Regions from separate parts of the Homo sapiens genome. Here all the other regions are linked to region 2. The links are contacts of gene promoters, found by promoter capture Hi-C in blood cells and fetal thymus (Javierre and others, 2016). All regions are on one chromosome and are shown on one strand. The core of a region is centred on a gene start or on the middle of the fragment in contact, and the rest is flanking DNA. Distances in the headings are between cores, read along the strand shown. Region 1 holds the start of UHMK1 (U2AF homology motif kinase 1). Region 2 holds the start of TMCO1 (transmembrane and coiled-coil domains 1). Region 3 holds the start of METTL18 (methyltransferase 18, RPL3 N3(tau)-histidine).

What was found. The method cuts DNA at HindIII sites, captures the fragments that hold promoters and counts their contacts. A CHiCAGO score of 5 or more calls a contact.
Region 1: a contact is called between the fragment with the promoter of UHMK1 here and the fragment with the promoter of TMCO1 in region 2, in 1 of 17 cell types (total CD4 T cells). The highest score is 5.4, in total CD4 T cells.
Region 3: a contact is called between the fragment with the promoter of METTL18 here and the fragment with the promoter of TMCO1 in region 2, in 2 of 17 cell types (activated CD4 T cells and fetal thymus). The highest score is 8.7, in activated CD4 T cells.

What each region holds. Positions count from the first base shown.
Region 1 is chr1:162,494,728-162,499,418 of GRCh38, forward strand. It overlaps UHMK1 (U2AF homology motif kinase 1), which reads left to right and starts at 3,091. Exons shown (of 8, transcript NM_175866.5): 1 at 3,091-3,541. The coding sequence starts at 3,274. RefSeq lists enhancers at 2,827-3,327, 3,062-3,141, 3,328-3,828. The HindIII fragment of the contact is 6,861 bases long and covers 1-4,155 here.
Region 2 is chr1:165,766,406-165,770,919 of GRCh38, forward strand. TMCO1 (transmembrane and coiled-coil domains 1) reads right to left here and starts at 2,463. Exons shown (of 7, transcript NM_019026.6): 1 at 2,277-2,463; 2 at 1,787-1,864. The coding sequence starts at 2,346. TMCO1-AS1 (TMCO1 antisense RNA 1) reads left to right here and starts at 2,524. Exons shown (of 3, transcript NR_125374.1): 1 at 2,524-2,970. RefSeq lists enhancers at 2,074-2,750, 2,751-3,426. The HindIII fragment of the contact is 3,297 bases long and covers 1-2,933 here.
Region 3 is chr1:169,793,635-169,798,485 of GRCh38, forward strand. It overlaps METTL18 (methyltransferase 18, RPL3 N3(tau)-histidine), which reads right to left and starts at 1,273. Exons shown (of 2, transcript NM_033418.4): 1 at 1,181-1,273; 2 at 1-263. The coding sequence starts at 61. FIRRM (FIGNL1 interacting regulator of recombination and mitosis) reads left to right here and starts at 1,406. Exons shown (of 25, transcript NM_001320047.2): 1 at 1,406-1,481; 2 at 2,195-2,349. RefSeq lists an enhancer at 1,006-1,325. The HindIII fragment of the contact is 2,103 bases long and covers 620-2,722 here.

The DNA of each region.
Region 1 (4,691 bases), core at 1,841-4,340, 3.3 Mb before region 2:
GCATGGTGGCTCACGCCTGTAATCCCAGCACTTTGGGAGGCTGAGGCAGGCAGATCACAAGGTCAAGAGATAGAGACCATCCTGGCCAACATGGTGAAAATACAAAATTAGCGGGGCGTGGTGGTGGATGCCTGTAATCCCAGCTACTCGGGAGGCTGAGGCAGGAGAATCGCTTGAACCCAAGAGGCGGAGGTTGCGGTGAGTCAAGATCGTGCCATTGCACTCCAGCCTAGGCAACAAGAGCGAAATTCCGTCTCAAAAAAAAAAAAGGAAATATATTTGGGGTTAAAATATTTGTATTTCCTTCTTTATCTGTCATGTGATGTTATGCCAGAGTTAGGTTGGAAAGTAAGTCACGTTATATGGGGTTAAACAAAACCCATCTTGTGGCCGGGTGCAGTGGCTCATGCCTGTAATCCTAACACTTTGGGAGGCCAAGGTAGGAGGATTACCTGAGGTCAGGAGTTCGAGGCCAGCCTGACCAACATGGCAAAACCCCGTCTCTACTAAAAATACAAAATTTAACCGGGCATGGTGGCGCATGCCTATAATCCCAGCTACTCGGGAGGCTGAGGTGGGAGAATTCCTTGAACCCAGGAGGCAGAGGTTGCAGTGAGCTGAGATCACGCCACTGCACTCCAGCCTGGGTGATAGAGTGAGACTTTGTCTCAAACAAACAAACCAACCAACCAACCTATCTTGTTACTGGAAAGTGGTCTCAATCCAGACCCCAGGAGAGGGTTCTTGGACCTCACGCAAGAAAGAATTCAGAATGAGTCCATAAAGCAAGTTTATTAGGAAGTAAAAGGGATAAAAGAATGGCTACTCCATAGGCAGAGCAACAGCTTAGGCTGCTCGACTTATAGTTATTCATATTTATAGTTATTTCTTGATTATATGCTAAACAAGGGGTGGATTATTCATGAGTTTTCCAGGAAAGGAGTGGGCAATTCCTGGAACTGAGGGTTCCTCCTCTTTTTAGACCATGTAGGGTAACTTCCAGGACGTTGCCATACCATTTGTAAATTGTAATGGTGCTGGTAAGAGTTTCCTTTAGCATGCTAATGTATTATAATTAGCATCTAATGAGTAGTAAGGACGACCAGAGGTCACCTTCACCACCATTTTGGTTTTGGTGGGTTTTGGCTGGCTTCTTTACTGCAATCTGTTTTATCAGCAAGGTCTTTGTGACCTGTATCTTGTGTTGACCTCCTATCTCATCCTGTGACTTAGAATACCTAACTTCCTGGAAATGCAGCCCAGTAGATCTGAGCCTTATTTTACCCAGCTCCTATTCAAGATGGAGTTGCTCTGGTTTGAACACCTCTGACAATCTGATGAGATTTTATGGTTTGTAGGCTGTGACTCCTCACATCCCTTAGATAAGAATTTGGGGCCAGGTGCAGTGGCTCACGCTTGTAATCCCAGCACTTTGGGAAGGTGAGGCAGGCGGATCACAAGGGCAGGAGTTCGAGACCAGCCTGACCAACATGGAGAAACTTCATCTCTACTAAAAATACAAAATTAGCTGGCATGGTGGCAAATTCCTGTAATTCCAGCTACTTGGGAGGCTGAGGCAGGAGAATCGCTGGACCCCAGGAGGAGGAGGTTGCGGTGGGCGGAGATGCCGAGATCATGCCATTGCACCCCAGCCTGGGCAACAAGAGCGAAACTCCGTCTTACCAAAAAAAAAAAAAAAAAAAAAAAAAATTGAGCAAGAGAGAAGACAGGTCAGAGTTTAGTCCTCAACCTCTCCTCAAACTTTCCACTTAGCACTACATGAACCATCTCATCTGGCTGGGAACTTACACAAAACCTGAAGAAAAGAAGATAGGGCCTATTGTCTGATACTAAGTTTTTGCCACACAATCAGAATAGATCTTGAAATAGAAAAGGTTGAATGACTGAAAAGTAAAGAAGGCTACATTTCTTACACACTCGAGTTTGTGGATTGAGATGCCTATTTGCTACATTTGTTACTCAATAAACGTTTGCTGAATGAATAAAATAATTGAATAAATAAATGAAAAATAAAAATTTGGAACAGATCCGTGTTTGCCCAGGGTGAATGCTTTTTGATGAGGGAGCCATAGGCAAGGTGGACTATGTTGATAAAAAGAGTTAAACTCTGTAAAATATTTGAAGAGATTTATTCTGAGCCAACTATGAGTGACCATGGTCTGTGACACAGCCCTCAGGAGATCCTGAGAACATGTACCCAAGGTGGTTGGGGTGCAGCTTGGTTTTATACATTTTGGGAGACATGAGACTTCAATCAAATATATTTAAGAAATACATTGATTTGGCCCAGAAAGGTGGGAAAACTCGAAGCGGGAATTGGTGGGGGGAGAAATGGGTCCTTCCAGGTTATAGGTAGATTTAAAATTTTTCTAATTGGCAATTGGTTGAAAGAGTTATCAATAGAAAGGAATGTCTGGGTTGTCATAAGAACTTGTGGAGACCAAAGTTTTGTCATGCAGATGAAGCCTCCAGGTACCAGGCTTCCAAGAAAATAGATTGTAAATGTTTCTTACCAGACCGAAGGTCTGTGTTGACCTTAACCGGAGAGGTATGAGGCTAGTCGGACCCCCACTTCCCGTCATGGACTGAACCAGAATTTTAGAGTGCCCTGGCCTGGGAGAAAGTCCATTCCGATGGTTGGCGACACGGGGGGCTTAGAATTGTATTTTCGGTTTACATCTAAAAGAAGAACAAAGGTCTAGGCTTCCAGAATCATGGGTTCTGGTGACCGTGGACCTGGAGGTGATGGTAAACTCTCTTTTTGTTCCTGGGGTGTTTTCCTTGGGATCCTTTCTATGAGAAATGTAGGCCGGGTTTTATTTTTCGGGTTCCTAGTGGTGAGGTAAGGTGAGGTGCCTCAACAAGAAAAAGGACCAGTTTTGGCTTCAGGTCTATGTGAAAGCGGTTAACACTGGGCCTGGAATGGTAGATACTCAATAATTAAGGTTACTTCTTATTCTCGGTTCTTTTTTCCAAACCTAGCGCGTCTAATCTCTTCTAGGCCCCGCCCCTTCTGAGCCCCCCCTCCTTCGGCCTGTATGATAGGCTCTTCCTCCATTTCCGGCTTCTGGGACTCGGGTGCACCACGGCTTCCGGTGTCATGGCTGCTTGAAGTCCCGGGAGTCGGTGAGGCGGCTGCAGGTCCCTCCCTGCGGAGCCGCTGGTCCGGCTGGCGGAGATGTGACCGCGGGCCCGGCCGGCCTGCCTCAGGCGTCGCGTCAGCTCCCGTGTCCGTGCCCTTAACCCACACCGATGGCGGGATCCGGCTGCGCCTGGGGCGCGGAGCCGCCGCGTTTTCTGGAGGCCTTCGGGCGGCTGTGGCAGGTACAGAGCCGTCTGGGTAGCGGCTCCTCCGCCTCGGTGTATCGGGTTCGCTGCTGCGGCAACCCTGGCTCGCCCCCCGGCGCCCTCAAGCAGTTCTTGCCGCCAGGAACCACCGGGGCTGCGGCCTCTGCCGCCGAGTATGGTTTCCGCAAAGAGAGGGCGGCGCTGGAACAGTTGCAGGGTCACAGAAACATCGGTAATTGCCGCTGTCTCCTTTCTCTTCTTGCCCAGGTCACAGTCCGAGCACACTCTTCCTCTCGCTGTCTGGCGTTCCATCTTCCTCCCCTTCTGCGGGAGAAGCGGGTTTAGCCCTCTTTATCACCCCATCCAGGCCCCTTTCCCCTTTCACTTTATTACTGTCTGCGGTATAGTGGAGTTGGTGGTCTGCTTTGCCAGGTGTCACATAGATGCTCAGTAAATTGTCTTGCTTCGAGTCTCATCGGAGAATGCCGCATTCATTAGCATACAGAAATATCTTTTCTAGTGAGAGGAGGCATGTCTTTGCTAGATTGTCGTGTCTTGTGTGGAAATTTTTGAATCTTTGCATACCAGTAGAAAATGGGAACTACGTCTGGGCCTTGTGACATCAATGCTAGTAACTCGTATAGCTCACCTATTATATCTTTAGTACGGATTTGGAAGAAATGATGCACTATTCCATGGGAGCCTTTATAGAAGTGTGAAATTTAGGAACACTATACCTTTGCTCTCTTGAGACTGTTTCAAGAATCAGATACTCAGAATGTAAGATATGTAATGATCACTGATGATTGATCTGTGAAAAGGTTTCATTTTCATTACACGACAGAAAGCTTATCATTAGTTATAGCTTTGGTTATTAAAGAAAAGTCTTATTTCCTAGCAAGTATGATGCATAGTTAATTTGAAGAGTGAGTTTTTTTATAATATCATTTTGGAGAAGAATTAACACTAGTGCTACATTTTTTTAGTTTACTAAATGGTCTGTTACTATAACCTTGGTATTGAAAAGGGAAAAATTTTGCAAGCCTAGGGACTTGCCTGATCTCTGCAAGATTAAAATTTCATCCGAAAAGTCTTAATCTCTTTGTTAGTATTTAGATTATAGAGAGCTGTTTATTTTTGTTTTAGTTTTTTTTTTTGAGACAAGTTCTTACTCTGTCACCCAGGCTGGAGTACAATGGCGAGATCACAGTTCACTCCAGCCTCCAATTCCTCCTAAAGCCATGCTCCTACCTCAGCCTCCCAGGTAGCTGGGACTACAGGCACGTAGCACCAAGCCTGGCTAATTTTTTGTAGAGAAGAGGTCCCCTTTTGTTACCCAGGCTGGTCTCCAAACTCCTGGGCTCAAGCAGTCCTCCTGCCTC
Region 2 (4,514 bases), core at 1,213-3,712:
AAGTGAATGTAGAGAAAAAAACTAAATTTTGTGTCACTCCCAACAACGGGAGGTCAAGAAATGAAACCATCAAGTAAATTGCAGAAGAATGATCAGTAAGGGCTGGGCACTGTGGTTCATGCCTGTAATCCCAGCACTTTGGGAGGCCTAGCCGGGAGGATCGCTTGAGCCCAGGAGTTTGAGATCAGCCCTGGCAACAGAACAAGACCTCATCTCTCCAAAATATCAGCCAGTCATGGTGGTGTGCATCTGTAGTCCCAGCTACTCAGAAGTCTGAGGCAGGAGGATCGCTTAAGCCTGGGAGGTCCAGGCTGCAATGAGCTCTGAGGGGTGACAGAGTGAGACCCTGTCTCAAAAAATAAATAAATAAATAAAAAATAAAAAAAGGATGACTAGTAAGATGGAGAGCAGCAAAACCGAAAGTATGGTGTCCTGGAGCCAAATTAATAAAGCATATCAAGGTTTCTGGCTTACACTACTGGAAGCATGGAGGTACCCATCACCAAGATAGGGAAATCCTGGAAGAATATCACGTTTGTGAAGGTAAAGATAACGAGTTTGGCCCAGATATGCTGAGGTACATAATCAACACTGAGTAAATTAAGGAACAGTAAGCTGTAATTTTAAAAGCCTGAGTCTGGTCTCTAATTCTTTGTTTGCTCTGTGACGTAAGTTGTCATTATCATCCTGAGGCTCAATTTTCTTTCCTATGACATGGAGGTAATATTTATACGAGTAACCACAAATGGTTGCTGTGTAGATCAAATATGGTAATTTAAGAAAAAAAACTTCAAACCCCTATGAAGATATAAGAAAAAGTCACAGAATACAGAAAGTTGTAGGAATTCTAAGAAACAAAAGTTATATTTAATCCTTATAAGGAAAAAAAGAAGAGAGAAAACTAAATCAGGCCTATAAGGAACCATTCACCCTGTACCTTTAGCTGAGTCCTGTGGAATTCCTGCTTTATTTCAAAGGTAACAAACCCTTCTTGTTTTTAATCTTTTCCTTAAACACCTCTTCAACTTTCTAACCCAACTGAAACTCGGCTTATCTCTGAAGACACCACTTACCTTGACACCAGTCATAATGACATATCATCCTCCAAACATGCCTTAAATGTTAAGATTTCCATATTTTTGCTCATATGTTATTTCTTTACCTGGAATTTCCTTTCCCCATTTCATTCTCTATCCAAATTCTAACTATCCACAAGGAACTGCAAGGCCATCAGCATCATGAAGGCTACCATGGTTCCTCACAACTGAATGAAGCCTCTTCTTCTTTTTTTTTTAAAGACAAGTCTCACTATTGCCCAGGAGGCAGTGTAGTGACACCATCGTGGCCCACTGTAGCCTCAATCTCCTGGGCTCAAGGGATCCTCATGCCTCAGTCTCCCAAATAGCTGGGACTATAGGTGTGTACCACCATACCCAGCTAATTTTTTCTGTAGGGACGAGGTCTCCCTATGTTGCCCAGGCTGGTGTCAAACCCCTAAGTTCAGTCCTGCCTCAGCCTTCCAAAGTGCTGGGATTAACAGGAGTAAGCCACTGCGCCAGATTGAACCTCTTCTTTAGAACCACCACAGCACATAACATGTATCTGCTACGCCCCTCACTTCCCTCTAGTTGGTATTACACATTTTGCATAAAAGTCTTCTATTTCTAAATAGGCTTCAAGTCAGGTTCATCTTTGTATCAGCTGGTGCTCTTAAAATATTTATTGTGAACATGGACTTAATGAGCTTGACGTGTTGAAATTATTTCTAATGTGTTGCCATACTCACATTTTTTACTCTGTTTTTCCACTTCTGCCTTCAGTCTCTTGTACTTGTCTGTCCTGTAAACCAGGACCCAGGTTATGCCTAAAACATTAAAAGCAACATGTTAATAGAGAAATGACTGGAATGATCACAACAAACAAAGTGGTTACTGTTGGAGAAGGAGGAATTCCAACTTTTCGCTTTGTATTTACCCATAGTTAACTTTTTTCAAAGGCTAATACAACTGACTCTTCAGCCAAAACAACAGTAACATGATGTGAAGGTGTCTCCACAAATACCCAAGTGAAATCTACCTGAGACCAAAGAAAACTCGGCAATCGACTCCATACTCCCCTCCTGCTCCTGTTCACGAGTTGCCCAGAGATTCCCTGAAGTGGAGTAGATGAGCCTCTCAAGCAAGTAAGGCTCGCGATCTTTCCCCTGGTGGCACAGGGGACCCCGGGGCCCTTCCTCCCGGGGACTGATCAAACGTCTGAGAAATACCCGCTCTCACCCTCTGCGAGCAGAGCCGTGCACACAGAGATAAAAACGATGAGGAGAGTGTCCGCGAACATAGTGCTCATCTCGCACCTTCGTCTCTGCACTCTCACCCGCCAGGGGGAAAGCGCTCTACAGCCAGGAAAAGTGAAGCGAAAACGGCTTCCGTAGACTCCGCCACCACCGAGTAACAGACCAACTCTGACAGCCCGAAGATCGCACTTCCGCTTCCGGGGCATAGCACCGGAAAGGCTCGTATCGGAGAACGGTGTGGCCACGAGAGTCTAGAGGAAACCAACCCGCAACTCACTGGAGCTGAAGGGCTGGTAGTCAGGCCGAATCTCGCGAGAATTGGAACTATTTCAGAGCCAGAGGAGGATAGTGGCGGCGGCGAACTTTGCCCGGTAGATTTTACTGACTGGGGTGCTGGCGCGCGCCTTTTTCTCGGCCAGAATCCAGTTATTGGGATAGTCTTGACTTCTACCTCAGCCCAACTTCTGTGGTCGTAATATTAGTTTAGCTTGGGTTTGCCGTGAAGTAAGAAGACTGACTTCCGCAAAGGTACTGAACGACTGGGTGTAGGTGCCAGGGCATGGACGTGAAGCTGGAACCGCGAAATGAGTTAGTTGTGGGCCGCTGGCCTCAAGGAGCGAACGTCAGCGCGAAGAGGAGAAGCTTGTGCATACGCTCTGATAAGGGTTTTAATAGAGGTATTACCACAGTGCTGCGTGACACGGTTGAGAGAGTGGTCAGAAGAAGCTAATGAAAGGAATTGAAGCAGTGCCTTAGGGGAGTAGGAGTACTTTTGGAGATAGCAAAGGACTTTCTAGGCAAAGTGGAAGTCAAAGCACGGATGCCTGAAAATTCATAGTGTGATAGTGCAGTGAGTAATGTATCTAGAGAAGGGGTCTTAAACCCAGATGCCTAGACTGGCGAGAGAAAATAAATTATCTTATGCAAGCTGAGCCTAAACAAATGGTGGAAGTTACTACGATGGATAAGTGAGCATTAAGTTCATCTGAAAGGAGAATTTGATACCCAAATCCAACCCATTTCTCTAGGAGAATGAGCACCCAGTTTCTGAGATGTCTTCGTTTCTCAGGAAAATCCAGAAATCCTGGGTTTTATGTGAAACTTAATTTATAAGTGTTGCTAACTAATTAAAATTCAAAAATGTCTCAGCAGCGTGGTTTCAGCCATTGTAGACGGTTTCAGCTTTTTCACACTGGGGTGTGTGTGTGTATGGGTGAAAACCTGGAAGCTGGCTGAGCTGTATCCTCTTGTACTTCCTCCTATCATTGGTGTTTTTTTGTTTGTTTGAGATGGAGTTTCACTCTTGTTGCCCAGGTGGAGTGCAATGGCACAATCTCGGCTCACTGCAACCTCTGCCTCCGGGTTCAAGCCATTCTCCTGCCTCAGCCTCCCAAGTAGCTGGGACTACAGGTGCCCGTCCCCACGCCCAGCTAATTTTTTGTATTTTTAGTAGAGACGGGGTTTTGCCATGTTGGCCAGGCTGGTCTTGAACTCCTGACCTCAGATCCACCCACTTCGGCCTCCCAAAGTGCTGGGAATACAGGCGTGAGCCACCGTGGCCGGCCCTCATTGGTTCTTTTAAACTGTACTGCACTTAAATATATAATTCTCCTAAACACTACTTTTGACTTTTTTTTAGCTTTATGTGCATTTCTTGTCTCCCAGACTTAGCAACAGAGACCCTGTCTCCTTTTTAAGAAACATTATTGAGCTTCTACTATATGTCAAGAACTGTGGTAGGCACTGTAGGGTCAAAAGGATGGTTAAGAGAATATTCCTGACTTCTAAGGGCCCAGGGAGATTATATAATATAATAAGATTATAGGTATTATAGAGGTATTCTTAAAATGTTGAGGGGGTACAGATGAAAACAAGATGTATTCTTCCTGGGGAGTTGGAAAGGTTTCAGAAAGATCATATTTGAGCTAGACCTTTATTTGAGCAGTTCAGACAAGGATAGGTTTTTATTCACCTTTGTATCACCCAAGGTAAGTGCTGAGATAACAATAAGAGCATGATCTTGGAAATCAGACCTGATTTTAAATTCTTGCTCTGCCACTTACTTGACAGCAGTCCTAGAACCTATTGTTTAGCATCTTTGAGCCTTCAAAATGGTGGTAACATCAGCTATGAAGACTGGATGAGGAAAAGTATATTATAAAGCATTTCAAGCAGTGCTTGGCACACACAATTCATCAAATTCAACATGCTATTCATTGTA
Region 3 (4,851 bases), core at 23-2,522, 4.0 Mb after region 2:
TAATGGGTGTTAATTCATTTTCCAGATGGTCTTCTATAGTGAAATTAAACTGAAAGGTCATCCTCTTATTAAATGCACACAATCTTTAAATTCAGATTCTTCAACTTCTGGATAGAATTTGATGATACACACAAATCTGCCTCAATTATTCAATTAGTTTTGTTGGGCCCAATTTCTCTTTAGCAGCTTATACATGGTAACAAATATTTAGAGATATTTCCAAATGACTTTTTAGACGTCTTTGGTCCTCTTTCCAAGCAGCTCTGGAAAGAAAAAAAAAAAAAAAAGAAAGAAAATGATGATTAAAGCAAAATGGCACATTTCACTAAAGTGTAATATTAAACAGCCACCCCCACCCCTCCCTGTCCCACCATACAGCTGCTTTTTCTTAAAAAGTTGTGGGGAAGAGAGAGAGATAAGAGATTTGGACACTCATACACACCTTAAGGGTTCCAAAGTGGGAGAAGAAAATCAACTATAAAAACAAACAGAAGAACAACAGCAACCACCACCACTACCACCTGGACAAACATAAAGTCCAAGATATTCAGACAGGACAGCCTAGCTACTTGCTGTCTTTCAGCTGTCTTGATTTGTGTCCAACCATATTCACCCCCTAAGCTTCCAGAATAACTTCACTTCTGTCTTTTACAGAAGAGGTGCAGTATTTTATTTTGGTAAGTCAGCGTCCCTTTAAAAACATGCATAGGTATGGCCTGGTGTGTGTAAATTCATCCAAGACTTCACTCCAAACATTTAGTCGAGAACAGCAGCCCTAAGTGTATAGAAGTGGGGGTAATTTGGCAATAATTAGTAAAGACTAATTCGGTGGCAGAGCAAACGCAAACTAGGGCACTGCAGTAGTTTGGAGAGACCTGTAGAAATAAGAAGCAACTTTATTGAGAATCTTCTATCTACTGCGCTAGACACTATACCATCTGCCTCAATTTTCACAGTTCTGGCAAGTGGGATCTTTGTTCCCTTTATACAAGATTTACAATTTGGGGGAGAGGCGGGTCACCCAGTCCCGCGGCTAGGAACGCGCCTCTTTCCTCTCCCATCACGCTGCAAGGCTTGGAGTCACTTCCGGCTGCAGGTCCCGGAACAAATCCGACCCCAGAAGTGGGGACTTCTGGCCCTCACCTCCCCATTTGAATGTAATGTTTACAGTGATCCAGACCTGGGGATGCTTGCTTCCCGACGTGTCCTGGGATCGCGCTTCTGAAAAAGCTCACCTCACAACGCCTCCTCCGGACCTAAATCGCGCACCAGTGAGTCGAGTCCTCCAGGGGCTAGAGAAGCCCGACTTTCTTTCCGGCCTTGAGGGACCCGGGCTCACCAAGAAACCAGCCGCCCTCCTCTCTATGGTTTTGGAGCCGGCGGAGAGCGCGCAAGGGTTGGCGGGACTGCGAGTTTCCGGTCTGGGCTTTGGCGGGTCTGGTTTGAAGCTCTCCTGTTTGACGAAAGTATGTCTCAGGAAGGTGCGGTCCCAGCTAGCGCGGTTCCCCTGGAAGAATTAAGTAGCTGGCCAGAGGAGCTATGCCGCCGGGAACTGCCGTCCGTCCTGCCCCGACTCCTCATATCCTTCCTTGGTTGTCACTTCTACCTAGAGAAGGGTGTGGGCGGGTCGCGAACCTTTCTCTTCTGTCCCTTCAGACCCACCGCCAGGCTGGGTTATATTACCGCGGCCTGAACCCCCTCTTTTCTTTGTCAGTGAGTGGGATGAAAAGTGAGGGACTGGAGGGGAAGCGACAACCGTGGTAGATTTAAGTAAGGCTTTGGCCCTGGAAAGCCTCGCGGACGTGTTCTGACCCAAGGTTTTAGCAGTGGATGTGGCGTTTTCTTCCATTCCTTCTTTCAGTTTTTCTGTACTCGTTGCTTGCAATTAAGTGTAAATACTTTTGCTAGTGGATAATGGGGGAGGCAAGGACTGAGACCTGCGGTATGACGATAGCTCTGGCTCTTAATAGTTTGAGGTAAAGCGAGATACTCTGAGCTTTTGTCTCCCGTAAAAAGGGTGGTGAATATGAATAAGGGCTTTCTTAGCGTTATAAGAATTAAAGGGCATAGTTCTGTGGTGTGAAATCTTTAAAAGATGTTCAGTAAATAAAAATGATTTTCCTCCTTCCCCTCTCAGACCTCTTTTTCTTCTTTCTTTCTTTTTTTTTGACAAGTTCTCACTCCTCTCACCCAGGCTGGAGTCTTTCTGAAAGAGTTCTTCCGCTTGTTGTTGGCTTTCAACTGTTGGATTTGAGGCGCTTAGCGCCTTCTTCGTCCGGGTGCAGCACATTCTTGATTGGTCTCATGCCTTTGTGGTTGTAAATGTGCCTGGAATCCTAGCCTTTCATGGTAAACCATATGTATATGTATCTTTTTCACAACATTTGAGCCCAGCTTTATACAATTACACTCAAAAGAAAAAAAGTAACCTTCACTTGAGAGAATCTCAATACTGCACAAATATTGTGCAGCTAAAGCCCTATGTAATCACATAGAAGTCATTCACCTAGGCATTAGCAAAATCTCAGAAGGTGCCAAAGCCCCCTTTTTTAGTTTTTGTGTAGGTACAGAACTGCCGTCTTCAAGGAGTTTCAACTTGAAAACAAATAGCCACCCTCAAAACATTCAAAAACACTTAAACTGCGTGCATAATGTGTGTGAGACATGGTGTTAGGCTTTGGGAGAACAGAGACACGGAACGTGATTCCTCTTCTTCCCCACAAGCTTATAGAGAGACTTCATTAAGTTGAAAGTCAACATTCCCACCTAGCTTTGCACTTCAAACGACATATTCAAAAAAGCCCAAACTTCCTCTAGTTTTCTTCATCTGAGTAAATGGTTTCACAAACTGAAACCTTGAATCCTCTCTGTCTCACACACCCGATCAGTAAGTTCTATTGTTTCTGATTCCAAACTATGTCTTGAATCAATCCGTTTATCTCCATCCTCATTGCTACCACTCTGATTCCAAACCCTTATCACCTCTCACTTGGAGTATTAATAGTTTCCTTGTTTCTACTCATAATTCATTATTCCAAAAAAGTTAAGAGGGGAAAAACATAGATCTCGTCATTTCCCTTTTTAAACCACTTTACCTTCAAGGTTCCAGGTGATCTAAGCCTTGCCCTTCTCTCATACCTAGTTAATTAACTACACTCTGTTCATGAATACATTAGGCTCACCTACCTCAAGATCTTTTTGCTCAGCCTGATTTGTTCTCTCAGCCTTTTGCATATTTCATGTTTATGTCTTGGCCCAAATGTCACTTCCTTAGAGGGGCTTTTTCAGAGCCTTCAATCTTAGGCAGTTCCCCCAAACGCAGTCTTACACTTGTATCACATTGGCCTGTTCAGTTTTCTAAAAAGCACATTACCATTAAAAGAAATGCTCTTGTTTGCTTTGTATATTTTCCACTTCTACACATTATGTTGCAAAGTTCATAAAGGCAGGATGTTGATTTTCTTCACAGCGTTACCCTCAGCACCTAGAACAGTGCCTGACACATAGTAAGCATTCATTAAAGGGCTAAAAATATTTCATGTTTTAAAAATACTTGGGAGTCTAATTAGACAATACTTTTTTTCAGCTTAATGGTAGTATTTTAGCTTCACTATTTTAACAAATGAAAAATTTGCAATAAATCTACAATGCCATTACCCCCCAAAATCTTTTTCATGTTTTGCATTTTACGTATTATTTTCCAGGCCTTACCTGCATGTCTGCATAATCATAACTGACTAATTTTGGAACAGCTGGTAATTATTTGAGCTTTACTGAAATTTTTTCATGAGGCCAATTCTACCCTACTGAACTCAAATTTGAGTTAATGATGACCTCATTTTGATTGCTGCTGTAAAAAATAAGATTTCGGAAGAGGAATGAATTCTTGTATTACTGTGGTAGGACTATGGGTTTTTTTTTGTTTGTTTGTTTGTTTTGAGACGGAGTCTCACCCTGTCACCCAGGCTGGAGTGCAGTGGTGCGATCTCAGCTCACAGCAGCCAGGTTCAAGTGATTCTCCTTCCTCAGCCTCCCGAGTAGCTGAGATTACAGGCACGTGCCACCATGCCCGGCTAATTTTTTGTATCTTTAGTAGAGATGGTTTCACCATGTTGGCCAGGCTGGTCTCGAACTCCTGACCTCGTGATCCGCCTGCCTCAGCCTCCCAAAGTGCTGGGACTACAGGCGTGAGCCACCGTGCCCGGCCGGGTTATTCATTTTTCTTATTAACATTCTTTGATGATTCTTATGGTGTTGTTACAGTAAAACATTTCTAACAATTATTCTAACAATTATTCTTGATGGTGTATATGAAGAATTTATTGTCGTGTATTTGTAAGCTGCTATGTGCAGAAGAATTTCAGTCAAATAAAGTTGGTAAGATAGGTATGTAAGTAATATGAAAAAAGATAGAAGGTGATGAGTGACTTAGGTATAAATTAAGTACAATAGAAATGTTGAGGAAAGAAAAATTTCTTGTAATAGAAATCGGAAGTACAAACTGGGCATGGTGGTGTGCATCTCTAATCCCAGCTCCTTGAGAGGCTGGTATGGGAGGATCACTTTAGCCCAGGAGCTTGAGGCTGCAGTGAGGTGTGATCATGTCACCGCACTCCATCCTGGGTGACAGCAAGACCGTCTCTCTTTTTTTTTTTTTTTGAGACGGAGTCTCGCCTATGCTGGAGTGCAATGGCGCGATCTTGGCTCACTGCAACCTCTGCCTCCCAGTTTCAAGTGATTCTCCTGCCTCAGCCTCCTGAGCAGCTGGGATTACAGGTGTGCGCCACCATGCCCAGCTAATTATTTTGTATTTTAAGTAGAGACGGGTTCTCACCATACTGGCCAGGCTGG